Linked DNA regions of Homo sapiens: all the other regions are linked to region 2. Evidence: promoter capture Hi-C in human tissues and cell types (Jung and others, 2019). All regions are on one chromosome and are shown on one strand. Each heading gives the region's core, a stretch centred on a gene start or on the middle of the fragment in contact. The rest is flanking DNA. Distances are from core to core; before and after follow the strand shown.

Evidence for each region. Contacts are between HindIII fragments. The study calls those that stand out against the background at their distance.
Region 1: a contact is called between a fragment that was not itself captured here and the fragment with the promoter of PRKCE in region 2, in 1 of the 25 tissues and cell types used here (bladder).
Region 3: a contact is called between a fragment that was not itself captured here and the fragment with the promoter of PRKCE in region 2, in 2 of the 25 tissues and cell types used here (dorsolateral prefrontal cortex and liver).

The regions. Positions count from the first base shown.
Region 1 is chr2:46,048,851-46,053,451 of GRCh38, reverse strand. The region is part of intron 10 of PRKCE (protein kinase C epsilon); the gene reads right to left. Among named protein-coding and RNA genes, the nearest start is that of EPAS1, 250 kb to the left of the region's middle. The HindIII fragment of the contact is 4,547 bases long and covers 442-4,601 here.
Region 2 is chr2:45,649,917-45,654,454 of GRCh38, reverse strand. It overlaps PRKCE (protein kinase C epsilon), which reads right to left and starts at 2,780. Exons shown (of 15, transcript NM_005400.3): 1 at 2,007-2,780. The coding sequence starts at 2,354. It overlaps LOC102724965 (a long non-coding RNA gene), which reads left to right and starts at 3,240. Exons shown (of 2, transcript XR_005647119.2): 1 at 3,240-4,490. RefSeq lists enhancers at 2,102-2,722, 3,211-3,505 and silencers at 2,881-3,350, 3,521-3,620, 4,251-4,350. The HindIII fragment of the contact is 9,634 bases long and covers 1-4,538 here.
Region 3 is chr2:45,950,473-45,955,146 of GRCh38, reverse strand. The region is part of intron 2 of PRKCE (protein kinase C epsilon); the gene reads right to left. Among named protein-coding and RNA genes, the nearest start is that of PRKCE-AS1, 280 kb to the right of the region's middle. The HindIII fragment of the contact is 8,884 bases long and covers 1-4,674 here.

The DNA.
Region 1 (4,601 bases), core at 1,466-3,965, 400 kb before region 2:
CGTTATGGAGATGGATAGTGGTGACGGATGCATAACTTTATGAATGTATTTAATGCCGCAGAACTGTAGGCTTAAAACTGGTTAAGATGGTAAATTTTACCTATATTTTACCACAATAAATAATCGGGGGGGAGTAACTTTTTTTTATTAAAAAGTAAGCTCCCTTATAACATAATAAGGTCACTTTCCTGGGATTTTTCTAGGTTTAAATTTCCAGGTCCTAATTTCCTAGGCTGCAAATGTCTAGTGGAATCCAAACAGCTTTCTCCCCAGAGTGGGGCTTCTCCCCATGTTTATGTGGTTTTCTCTCTCACATTCAGTTATTTCTTTGAAATTACTGAAGTCTTTGACAATACAATAATCTTATCTTCCTGCCCATCTTTCTGCTGCTGGTTCCCTTGGCCTTCAGCTTTCTCATCCGTAAGTTCACAGGCAGTTGGGTGACCGGCTCTTACGTTTAGGTTTATAATCCACTTTGAGTTCACTTTTGTGTATGGTGTGAGAGCAAAGACTAAATGTCTCAGTACCATTTATGGAAAACCATCCTTTTCCCATTGAATGGTCTTGGTACTCTTCTTGGAAATCAATTGATGATAAAGGTTAAGTGTTCATTTCTGAACTCTCAACTCTGTTCTGTTGACCTATATGTCCTGTGCTTATTCCAGTACCACACTACTGTGATTATGTAGCTTTACAGTATGTTTTAGAACCAGGAATTTAAGTCCTCCAACTGTGTTCTTTTTCAAGGTTGCATTGGCTCTTCTGAGCCCTTTGCATATCTTATTCAATTTCATATGAATTTTAAGATCGGCTTGTCAATTTTTGCCAAGAACTCTGCTGGGATTTTACTAGGGACTGCATTGAATGTAGAGATCAATTTGGGGAGAACTGCCATTTTAATAATACTGTGTCTTCTCCACAAACATGGAATGTTTTTTCCATTTATGTTGATCTTCCTTAATTTCCCTCAGGAATGTTTTGTACTTTTTAGTATAAAAGTCTTCAGCTTCTTTTGTCAAATTTATTCCTGAGCAATTAAGTCTTTTTGATGTCTTTGCGAATGGAACTGTTTTCTTAATTTTGCCTTTGGATTCTTCATTGCTAGTATAAAGAACTGTAATTGATTTTGTATATTGATCTTGTCTCCTGTGGCCTTGCTCTACTCTTTTATTAGTTCTAGTAGCTTCTTTTGCATGTGTATTGACTAGTATTTTCTACATATCAGATGGTGTTCTCTGCACACACTACCTTTTGAAAGTGGTTCAAATCTTAGGTAGACTCAACTACTGGAAGGAAGAAGGGACTGTGTTGACAGTGACACAATCTTAGATTATATGGCTTTTCTCCTCCCTTCCCATGCACTGAAAAGCACCTGATATGGTTAGGCTTTGTGTCCCTACCCAGATCTCATCTTGAATTGTAATCCCCAGGTGTTGATGGAGGAACCAGGTGGGAGGGGACTGGATCATGGGGGCGGTTTTCCCCATGCTGTTCTTGTGATAGTGACTTCTCACGAGATCTGATGGCTTCATAAGGCAGTTTTCCCTGCTCTCGTGCACTTCTTCTCTCTCTGCTGCCCTCTGAAGAGGTGCCTTCCGCCATGATTGTAACTTTCCTGAAGCGTCCCCAGCCGCGTGGAACTTTGAGACAATTAAACCTCTTTTCTTTATAAATTACCCAGTCTCAGGTACTTCTTTATAGCGGTGTGAGAACAGACTAATATAGCATCATTGAGGATTTGTTTCTCACTTTATTTCACTAAGGTAAAAACAGCAGGGGGAATAAAGTAGAGAAAACAATACCTGTAAGTGGAAAAGCCCCAAAGAAAATAGGAAATGGCCCATGAACAACTGAGATGCAGCATGCCTTCAAAGCGGGTGCTAGATTCAGGAAATGTCTTCCAGGTTCCCCAAAGGAGAGCAGAGCCACCTTAAAATCAGCAGCTTGGGAGAAGAATGGCAAGGGCACTCTCTTGCACCAGGGAGATCAGCTGTGCCATGTGCCATATAACTTCTTTGAACCTCAGTTTCCTCATCTGTTTAAGTGAGAAAATCACATTTGCCCTACCCACAGCTCCCCACCTTCACAGTCACAGATCAGAGAGAAGGTGACAGCATGTGTATGGTGCACTGAGGCATGTGGACAGCTTCTTGCCACCAGAAACCACCAGCCCAGGGGCCCACTACCCAGGCTACCACTTGTGGTGCTCTGGGAAGGTCAGATTTCAACATTAAATAACATGAGCTGAAAGTTGAAGGAGTTTTGAGACTTGCAGTGGGAAAGAGGATTTGTTATCAGCTTACTCTTGCGGGAGGAACTGAAGTCATCTCAGTAGTTATTTGTGGCTTGACTATGAAAGCAGAATCCATGGAGGAAGCTAATTCCTCTCACCTGACACGATGCACATATTGTCTTTCTTCTTCCTTTCCCTCTCTCATTTGGGGGTGAGGGAGTGGGAGAGATAAAGGAAGTGATGACAGTGAGGTGAAGTGAAAGGAAGGGAGGACCACAAAGAACTGGGCCTTTTAAGACTCCTCAGGTGATGGCTTCAGAGATGTTTCTGCCCATTGTGGGCACTGAGAAAGACCATGATTTCTTTTCTAGAAAAGAGTGAGACTTTGACAAGAATGAAGGAAATGAGAGAAGATGCCTCCAAATGTGTTGGCTTGCTCCTAAATTATTCCCAGGACGTGGCTGGGGGGGAAAAAAGAAATCAAAGGTCCATCAAGTCATGCTCTTTGCAGGCCACAGGTGGCAGTGTCCTGAAATTGTCCCAGATACCTTTACCTTTAGAACCTCATTAAGGGGCCAGTGCTGGCTGGGAAGGCAGGACAGAGCGGGAAACAGAAACCTTTCTTCCTTCCCACCCCACAAGGTCACAGCTAATATTTTATAATCCATTCAGCTCACAAGGGAGGGACAAGGAGAGAGAAGAGGTGTGGAAGGCAGGAAAGGAAGCCAAAAGACTAGAAATAATGTTTTCTCTCCACTGCAACCCACATGGCTTAAACCCATTAAACTCCAAGGTGATTACAGAAATTAGACACCTTTTAACGAGCGGAACACTGGAGCCTAGGTGTGCCATGCACAGGCATGCAGGGACGGCTCGGCAAATAAACCCTGACAGCTTCTCACGGCTCAGGGATTAGAAGGAAGCCTGTTTACTTACATTTCATAAACTCTACCATCACAAAGGGCTCATAAGAAATTACCAGTGCTCGAGTCTTGGCAGCAGTGCCTTTGTCCAGCTTTGGCCTTTTTCTTGTGAACGGTAAATGTGATTTCAGGGAAATGACTTCAGAGATCTGGGAATGTGCATCACAGGCCATGAGCCCAGCTAAGCCACCCTACCCCTGGGGACCAGGCAGCAGGGCGGGCAATGGGAGCCAGTGGAGGGAGTGCCAAGCCTCCAATTCTGCAAGAACTTTAGGTTTCCCCATCAGTCGGTGGGCCCAGCTTTTACCCCCAGCCTTCTACACTGGCCATGGTGACCATGCTGGGGGTACCTCTCAGAGGACTCACCAGGACCAGTACTGTGTTGGATTTGATGGACAGAAGGACCTGCCTCGGGTTTGCCTCAGGGTCTTAGTCAAGATGGGAAAATGTAAATTACATGAAATCAACTGCAGAACACAAAATGGTGTATCAGAAAGAGCTAAACTGATGTGTAACACAAGGAACTGGGCAGAAGGAAACGCATGATGGGAAACTGAGGCAGGCTTTCTAGAAGAGGTGGGATTTACGAGAATGCAGAGTGGAAAGCAGAGGGAAGCCCCTCTGGTGACCTTCATGAATTCAAGTGAGAATATTTTCCCACAGCTACAAGGATACTAGAAGGTATTTCCTGCAGCGGGTATTACACCTGCAGCTGCTTCCCCCTTGACCAGAGTCTGCTTAGGAACAATCAGGCAGAAACTACCTTGGCTGCCCAAGGGCTGGACTCCAGTCTAGGCTCACAGTTAATTGCAAGATGTGCGTGTAAAGGGCTTTGCACCAACTGGGATAGGTTGTCCCATCTCCTGTTGCCCTATCTCAGGCCACTTTAAGTCAATAGAAGCTTAAAGTATCTGTGGGCATGAGAGAGAGCTGGGCTATGTGCATTGTCAGGACTGGGAAGAAACCAGGGCAGCACTAATCCAGTGAGGTGGGGGCTTCTATCAGGCTGTAAGCCCACTCGGCAATACTGACAGGTGGGAAGCTTCTAAGCAGAAACCCTGAGGTCCCTGGAAACCATCAAATAGGATGAGGGTTGCGCTAAGGAAACGTCTAGGAAAAATGGGCCCGGACAATCTTGCCCCAAGCTCAGTCAAGAAGGGGAAAGACAGACCTTGTATCTCCTTCCTGCCTTTCAATTCTGACTATGAAGGTAAGAGACATCACGGGACTCCAAGGAAGGCCCTGGGACTCTAGACTACAGAGAAGAGCCTAACTAAATTGCTTATAAAAGTTTTTTGGAGTTCCTCCTGTGTAGGTCAGATGGAGGCATTACTGGCGAGTCTCTACACTCCAGGCCAACTATTACAACACATGACTGGTGCCCCATACAGAGCTATAGGAAAGTGCAGAGTGCATTCTGTCTGGGAAGGAGAAAGGAGGAGGGC
Region 2 (4,538 bases), core at 1,531-4,030:
ACTAGCTTCTCTGGAACTCAATGTCCTCATCTGTAAAACTTGCCTGTGCACTAGATGATCTGGCCTAGGGCCAAATCCAACATGAATTTGAGAACCTTAGAGGATGATAACCAAACAAGTTCCCACTGCATGCTTCACTAGGAGGGATGAAGGTGGGGACAGTGTCCTGAAGCTCCCAGAGTTTGGGGTGTGCCCCAGTGAAGCATCACCAGAGATACAAAGACACTCTCCCTCCAACCAACATCTGTTCTATGGATAAATGCAGACCTGCTGCTCCTCATCCCTGCTCTCTGCCCCACTGTCCAAGCCCCTCATCTGCATACACTGCAAAAGGCTCCCATCTCCTAGCTACCAGCGTCAAGTTTTTTCCACCCCCTTCCTGTCCAAAAACAACAACTCCAAAATCACAGGTTTTCAGAGTCAAGGTCTACCTCTGAAATTAGTTATCCCTTCCACTCCCCCTCTCATATGCACTGCATTCATGAGGAAAGGGCCCAAAGGCCATGCATGGAAAAGAAATGGGGAATGAGTGGGAGCTCTGTTGTGGGGGCTGAAGGAAGCAGAGATGAGGGACATCTGTGAAGTAGAATAGAATGGCATGGAGTTCTCTGGGATTCCATAAAGGTTTGCCTGCTTTCCAAAGTGCAAACCACAAATCTAGAGTTCTACGCATGTGGCTTGTTGGAGCTTCCCTGTGAAACCGTAACCATGGTTTCAGGCAGACTACATCACAGCCATGAGCACAAAAACAACAGGCTCTCTCTTATTTTTCCCTAAAACTCCGTGTCCTTGAAAAAAATATGTAAGGTGATATGCCAAAGTGATCCATGTGCAACCTCTGACCTCTAGGACATTCATGAAGTTAGCTGGTTTTCAATAGAAAGCAATTGCTCTACACCACTTTTGAGGCTTAGATAGCTCTCTCACTTTTTGTGTAGACCAAAGAACCCTGAAAACATATACCTCCAGAGGAACGCTTGTACTTGCTGGAAACATGTAACAAACCTGAAAACACAAAAATCCACATCCTAAATTAATACCTTCCTTCCAAGAAGAGAGAAAAAAAAAAAAAAAAAAAAAAAAACAACCCAAAAACAAACACAAAAAGCAAAATGAAGGTTTGCTTCTCTCTGCTTGTCCAAGTGCCAAGACTGGATGCATTTGGTTTATAGTAGATTGAGACAAGACCTCTTTCCAAATCCTTAATAGTTTAATAATGGAATCAATTAACAACTCAATCTCATACTTAGAAATCGTCTTTTATTGCACAGTATCTTGACAATCAAAACAGAGAAACAATATAACTTTAAATAAGATTCAAAGCACTGACTTCCAATTACCCACAAGCAGAACCCTTCTTAAAATGCAACATTCATTCTGCATGGATGGGCAATGAATTGGACAAAACAAGCTCGACTGATGTTTCTGGGACCATAGAGGAGACATCCTGGAGGAGAACACATTTTTTCTACTTGTATGTCAGAAGATGAGCTAACCACCATGCAAGAGAATAGAAACAAGCCAGCTTCCTCTCGGAGGGAAAAATAAAGCAACTCCTCGCTCGGCTAAGCAGGACAAAGCCAGGACGTGCAAGAAGCCTTCAGTCAAAGGCTCCACGTGCCTTTCCAAGGACGGAGGGACCCACCCACACACAATCACACACAGCCAGCCCACCACGCGCCTGCGGAAGAAAGCCGGGTCCTCGGCCAACCTTCAGCACCAGTGGCCCAGGCTCTCCCAGTTTGCAAACCTCCCGCAGCACCCACCAACTGGAGGGCACAGAGGGAGCAGAGGGCCACATCCTCTTTCCAAGTCTCATCTTCCTCGCCAATGCCTGTTTCTCCCCAACTATGAAGTGAAGTGTACCTCCCCAAGGAAACTGAGACTTACAGGCACACACACCCCAGTCGTCAATAAGTCCCGGAGCCCTACGATCAAGACCAGCGAGTCTTTCCCCGGGACCCCACAACCGGGTTCCCGGAATGACGGGGAGGCGCCGCACTCACCCAGTCCTCGAAGTGGCGGCTCCCGTTCTGCAGCAGCTCCTCAAACTGGATGGTGCAGTTGGCCACGAAGTCGTCGTAGCCTATGGGGGCATCGTGAAAGACAGCCAGCTCGATCTTGCGTCCGTTGCACACATCGGTGACGAACTCGTCGTGCCAGGCCGGGCTGTTGGTCTTCTGCTTGGTGGCCGTTTGGCCGATGCGCGAGTCGTCCACATTGAGGGCAATGTAGGGGTCGAGAAGGAAAGTCTGCGGCCGGGGTCCCACCGCATGGCGCAGCGACCAGGCTGTGGGCTTCAAGCTCACGGCCTCGCAGATTTTGATCTTAAGAAGGCCATTGAACACTACCATGGTCGGGGCGGGGAGTGGGGGCCGGGGTCACTCCGTCTGCCCCGAGGGCAGGAATGAAGAACCGACGGCCCGGCACTCCGAGCCACAGGGACTCTTGGGTCCCCTTTCGCCCCACCCCGCACACTCCCTACACCTTGTGGCGTTGCGCCCTGGCGCGGGCGATTCTCAGCCAGTGCATGTATTTCCTCGCCGGGTTCCTAACGGAAAACAGGGAGGGGGGAGAGCTGGGGGATGTCCGTGTTTGGAGCAAGTCTCTCCCCCCGACCACCAGCTGCACCTCCAGAAGAGAAGACGAGCTGTCGGCTCCGCTGCAAGCCGCGGGGGCTGCCTCGCCGCCTCGCTGGCTCTCCGGCTCCGGACTGCGGGAAAGCGGGCGCCGCGCCCGGCGCTTACCTACCTTTCCGAAACATAATCCCGGGAAATTTCGACTCCGGGAGGGGGATGGGGCGGTGGGACGGGGCGGGGACGAGAACCGGGGGCGCAGATTTCAACCCGGATCCTCTTCGCACACTCAGCGCCTGCCTCTGACCGCGCGGGGCGGGGGGGTGAACGGAGGGATGTTCAGTCTATCCGGAGGGATGCATGTCGAGAGGAAATGGTCCTCCTCGGAGCCAAATTTTTAAAAATCCACAAGCCCCACGGCCAGCCGGGGCCGCCGCCTCCTGGGCGAAGCAGCGCCGCGCCGGAGCCGGCGATCGGGAGGCGCCAGGAGCCCGGAATCTCACATCCGCGCGGGCTCGGAGTCCGGGCGGCCGCCGATCCGGCTCGGGGGCGCAGGCCAGCACCGGGCGGTGCGCAGCGCGGCGGCGGGGCAGGGACTGCGACTCAGCGCGGCCCCACCTCCTGGGCGCCGGCGCCCGCCCTCCGCGCTCCCCGCGTCCCCGCTCTCGGCTGCCGCTCGCTCGCCGCCCGCCAGCCCGCGCTCCCCCGCGGTCTCCTCTCCCTCTGTCGGTGTGCGAGCGAGTCTCCCTCCCTCTAATGCAGGAAATGCGCAAAAGACGTCAGTGTGTGTGAGTGTGTGTGTGTGAGTGTGTGTGTGTGCACGCGCGCGCGCGCACGGCAGTGTTTGGGGAAATAGAAAGTTTTGCCGGTTGGGGGAGCAATACGGAAAAAGTGAGCCGAGGAGACAACGGTGGAGAGCTGGCGAGGCTGCCCGGGGTCGCAGCGGCGGGCGGGTCAGCCGGGGGGCGGGGACCCCGCGCGGGACCCCGGGGTGCGGCGGCGCTGGGCTGGATGCGCGTGCCGGGGGCCGTGGATGGCCATGGATGGGCCCCGCCGGGCCGCGTATCTCTCGGGGACCCTGCGGCCAACACTGTCTTTTAGAGCCGGGGATGGGGGAGTGGAGGGGGCCCTGTTGCCCTAGAGGCCTCGGGACCCTTCCCTTGCCCACCCCCACTCGGGCCGCGGCGGGCAGGAGCAGTCTGCGGAGTTCTGGCCCATCTGTCACTCTGTCCCGGGACGCTGTGATCCACGGCGGTGGGGGAGGGGGAAGGGGGAGGGACAAGCATGGCTCGGGTGAAGTTTTAAACTCTGTTCTTCTCTCTTGCCTTTCTTTGGGGACATTCTCCCCTTTGGGATCTGTCCTGGACTTCGCAGGCTGCGAGAACTTGTTGACAAGTGAAAGCTCGGTAGAGCCCCGGCTTGGTTTGTGGTCTGCTTATTTTTTGCAAAGTGACTGTTCCTGTTTGCGCTGGTCCTTATCGGTGCCCCTTTGGGGGACTTCGGCACTGATCAGCGCGCTGACAGCCGCCGTCCGGGCTGCGGGAAAATGGGGCGCGCCCTCCGGGGGGCGAGTGGCTGTGTCCTTGCTAATTTCCTCCGTAACCTTTAAACTCTCGCTGGAAGCTACCGCCGCGGCTGGTCACGTGAGGAGAGCCCTGGGCTGCTGGGGAAAAATTTCCTCGGCTGGGAGCCGGGACCGGGCCGGCGGCCGGCGAGGGACTGCCCCGCGCCCGAGACTGGGAACCTGGGAGGGCAGGGCCGGAGCGCTGGGCCCCGGGGCGCGGCCCAGCTGGGACACCCGCGAAGACGGCGGCGGTGAAGAGGTCGGCTCCGCTGCCGGGGAGCTGGGGATTATGCAAATGGGGAAAGAAAACCTCCGCCCTCGCCCTTCTGCCAAGTCAAGTCTGGGAATTTGTAGGTATTGTGGTAAGCTGAGTGTTCATCTGGCGGGTCTGGTTAGTG
Region 3 (4,674 bases), core at 1,597-4,096, 300 kb before region 2:
TTACTATTGAATTGGATATTCATCCATTAAACATTTAATTATATACTTGATGGAGTACTTGATGGAGTGCGTGATGGAGTGTTCATATTGTTTCCTCAGCTAGATTGCTAGTTACTTTAGGAAAAGTAGCCCTTAAGATTTATTTTGCATGCTTCTTCCCAACCTCACCCCATACCCCCATTGCCTAGTTCTAATCATTATTAATTAAATGAAATACTAAAGTATTGACAATAGTAGGTAGGAGAAGCAATGGGGTACCAAACACACTGTAATTCATCCACTTAACAGCTCACAATCACTGTGTTTTTTCTTGCATACATGATTAAAATGTCTTTTCACAAAATAAAAGCTATCCTCGGTTCTAAACAGTTTAACAATCCCTAAAGGGCCTACAAGAGCATGCAATAAGTACTTGCATTTCTTGACAGTAATTGTTTCCTTGTATAAGATTCCTTTCATGATAGCACATTGAAATGAGGTTCTCCCCCTTTGTTTAAACACTAATCAAACAAATTCTATACATTACTTTTCTCTTGTAGAAGTCTGGCCAAGCATCTTGAGTTAATATGTACCCTCTATGAATGTTTCCTATTTTCATGCATGCTTATGTTTAAATTAGATAGGCCAATTTAATTAGTCTTTTAATCCTGCAGAACAGTGATGCAAGACCCTCATGCTGGGCTGATGTCATCCTATTCAGAGTCTCATATCACATTTCCTTACATGTTCTTTGCTTATTTTACAATAAAGGGTTAATGGATGATGCAATATTGATAAGGAACTTACAATTTGATCACAAGAAAATTGTCTGCTCTTCAGAAATTTTCTACCTGGCCTCTAAATTCTTTTGACTCCAATATTTAGTGATAAGGAAGCCATTAGCTGTCATTTGGCTTGGGTATACAGACTTATTTCAGTAATACACAGGCACACGTTTGTGAACAATTTTGAGAACTGTTTTCCTTGCCAAGATTCACTAGGGCCACACAAAGTCCCTGCGCACCTAAGGCCACCTTCAAAGTGGGAGCAGGACCAAGGAGATTTGTTTTATTCCAAGAACTGGCCAGTAGATTTATAGAAAATGACATTTGAAAGTCTTTTTAAATTTTGTAATAGGCAAAGGCACTGGCACTAGATAAGATTGCAGTAGGGAAGGGCAGCTTATGTTGTCTTAGGAAAATAGACAGCTTTTGTGAATCCATTCACTTCTGTGAAAATTTGACTTCCTCTGTGCTTTGCCTACATCAACTGGTAATTTAGGTCCAGGAGGTACACGAAAATAATTAGGACTAATATTGCACAACACGGGCTCTCAACTCTGCCTGCAGGTTAAACTCACCTGGAGAGTGCTGAGAAAGCCAGCGCCTGTGGCCCACCACAGACAACTGAATCACAATCTCTTCGGGGGGAGCCCAGGCACTGGTACTTTTCTTAAAGCTCACAAGGGGATTCTAATGTGCAGCCAGTGTTTAAAGCAGTGACAGCAAGAGTGGATGGGGGCGCAATTAAAAAGTAGGAGAGGCATCGAGGGACAACCGCACTGATCAAGCCGGTGACTTTCTGACTCAGCAGTGACACTGAATGAGTGTTTTGGGTTCAATGTCATTTTTTAGTTTAGGGCACAGCCCACGGTTGGGTATTCCAGGAGAGGTGTTCCAGAGGAGGGGAAAGGGAGCGGTAGCTGGCTGTTCAGGGAGAGGGAAGGGAGGAAGAGAGAGAGCAAGGAGGATGTTCTATCCAAATTGAAAAGCGTATGAAAAGTGCCCTGGGCAGGGAGTCCAGTAATGGAGAATCGTCTTGGCTCTGACATATGTCACAACCAAATATGTGACCCGTGGGTAGGTCATTTCTCTTGCCTTGGCCTCATCTTCCCCAAGACAAAATTACATGGGATGGTTCATGTTTTTCAAGTTCCTTCTGGTTCTGAGATCCTCTAGGTATGTTCCATCAAAAGTACTGGGGCATTACAGATGCATTTGCCTGGACCACCTGGCCATGGGGAAGGGGGTTCAGAACTGTGTTCACCTCCCAGGTAATCCGGGGCAAATGCTAAAACTTGAAAACAGATCTAGAGTTATTTCAGAATTACTATTATTTAAGCATTTCATTATCTCAAACACTACTCAGTAATGTCAAGAAAGGCAACGGGCTTGACCTCCCTGTCCATAAAATGAGATGTCAGGGTGAACTCAGCCTACCGCTTAAGACAAATCCTCATACTGTGATCTATAGTTTTATTTGGCTGCTGTGTTTCGTGCTGTTAATTTATAAGCTCGTTGAAAAGAGACACTGGTTGTCTAATAGACTTTTAATGTGACATGGCACATAATAGCCTAAACAAAGCACATTCAGTGTTCCTACTTTTTCTATAAAAAGTTGTGTTCCTGGAAAGCTGCATGTCAATGGCCCTCCCATCAATCAAAACCAATTTTAAATGTACAGTACATTAAGTACATTAAGTGCTATATAAGGGAATCCTGTGGTGAGTGCTTTTGAAGAGCGACTACATTTTTTGGAAATGCTAATAATTACATCTTAATTCAACTGTTTGGTAAATCTAAACTTTTAACATAGCAATTTCAACGTAAAATAGGGGTTGCTTTATGTTCCTTTAATTTGAACCATTAGTTAACAAGGGAGCCTGAAGTATTTTATAATAAATTCTGCGTGTAGTCCATGTTCCTTTAGAATGTATACTTCCAGCAAAAGGAGGGGTGTTTTATTGGTTTAAAATTCAGGGTGCTTCTGTGTGTTAAGCCCATGAGAGAGAGAGAACAAGAACAGCCCAGCATAGTGATGACTTATGTACGCTTGCGAGGCCCAGGGGCAGCATGGTGTAATGAAATGTGTATATCATTATAACTTTGGGGCCTGGGCTCTTTTGCCGACCACCACCTAGTTGGGTGAGTCCCTTTCCTTCTCTGGGCTTCAGTTGTTTATCTATGTGATGGAAAAATCAGACTAGGTGATAGGTCTAACATTCTAGGAGTCAGGCTCTTTTAAGAGTCTGAATCAACTGGGCACAGTGGCTCATGCCTGTGATCCCAGCACTTTGGGAGGCCGAGGCGGGTAGATCACTTGACGCCAGGAGTTGAAGACCAGCCTGGCCAACATGATGAAACTCCGTCTCTATTAAAAATGCAAAAGTTAGCTGGATGTGGTGGCACATGCCTGTAATCCCAGCTACTCAGGAGGCTGAGGCATGAGAATAGCTTGAACCCAGGAGGCAGAGTTTGCAGTGAGCCAAGATGGCGCCCCTGTGCTCCAGCCTGGGCGACAGAGCAAGACTCCGTCTCAAAAAACAAAACAAAACAAAACAAAAGAGTCTGAGAGTCTGGATCAACTGAGTTTGTCACATTTTACAGTCTTAAACCACTCACTCGTGCTTTGATCCAGCTTGGCACAAACTCAGAGGATGAGGTGTGGAAGAACCAGACTCATTGTATGTGGTTGTGTACAAAAGTGCTCAGCCTTTGCTACATTTGCCTCCAGCACAGAGTTGCATTGGCTCAGCTGGGGCCCTCATTTTGTGAGATGCTGCATTGGTCCTAGGGAGAGCGGCACCTTTAAACCTAGAGGAAGCAGAGCACGTATCTTGTGGTTAACATCTAAGTGTGGCCCCAAGCCAAAAGGGCTGTCTTTCTGGGCCCAGAGAAGCCTTGACTCAGGAGTGGGGGCCATGGACACATACATACTGCCTAGTCTCAGTGAGGAAGTCAGAGTTAGGGAGGAATTATGAAAGCCCAAAGACTTGCAAGACAGAGGGACCTACCTGGCATGACTGACTGGAAACACGACTTCCTCGACAGTCTGTATGAAGCTGTTTCCCAGAGGACTGGGTTCCTCCTTAGAGCCTTAGGTTAAAGTTGTCTAAAGCAGTGGTTCCCAATCTGGGCTACTTACCAGAATCACCTGGGAAGCTAGTGAAGCCATAAACTCCAGAGCCACTCCCCAATTCCACTGGGTGAGGCTTGAAAATCTGTAACTTTAATCAACTCCCCAGGAAATCTTTTGCAGCCAGAGCAGCACCGGATAACACGATAGTGTTTGAACACTGGCTTTACAGTGATGGTTTGGGCACCGAGCATTAAGCTGTGGGCAGGATTGTAGTGCAATTCACAGTCATGACTGGGGATGTACAAGGACACTATTTGGAGCTTTTGTCTTGGTGGCCAAGTGAACATGATCTCAGATCGGGAGCCACCAAGTGGGCAGAGATAAGTCAAAGAAATGAGGCTGATAGTTCCAGGACTTAATTAGAGGAGCCAGTTCTGAGAGGTCCTCTAGGAAAGTTGGTCCTCTAGGAACACCAGTACTCCCTCTTGTCCACCAGCTGCTGTTGCTGTCCCCAAGCACTTCTCACCTTGAGCCAACGGAAGTGTGAACAACAGACACTTGGCAGACACAAGGGTGGATCTGCACCCCGCCCCTTGATATCCATCTCTCGCTTTGCCCTCTGCGTGCTTGAAGTAACCTTTTTCACTCCATGGCTTATTAGACACTTGGCCTGGGCATCATCAAACCAGGCATCTTGTAATCCCAGGGGAAACTGGGGCACAGTCGAGCATAAACCCTGGTAATGACCTTGAAGTTATTTTCTCCTCATCCAGCCAGAGTTCCTCATGCAAATGTGCTGTGACATCTTTATCTGCCATCCTCAAAATTAGAATGTGA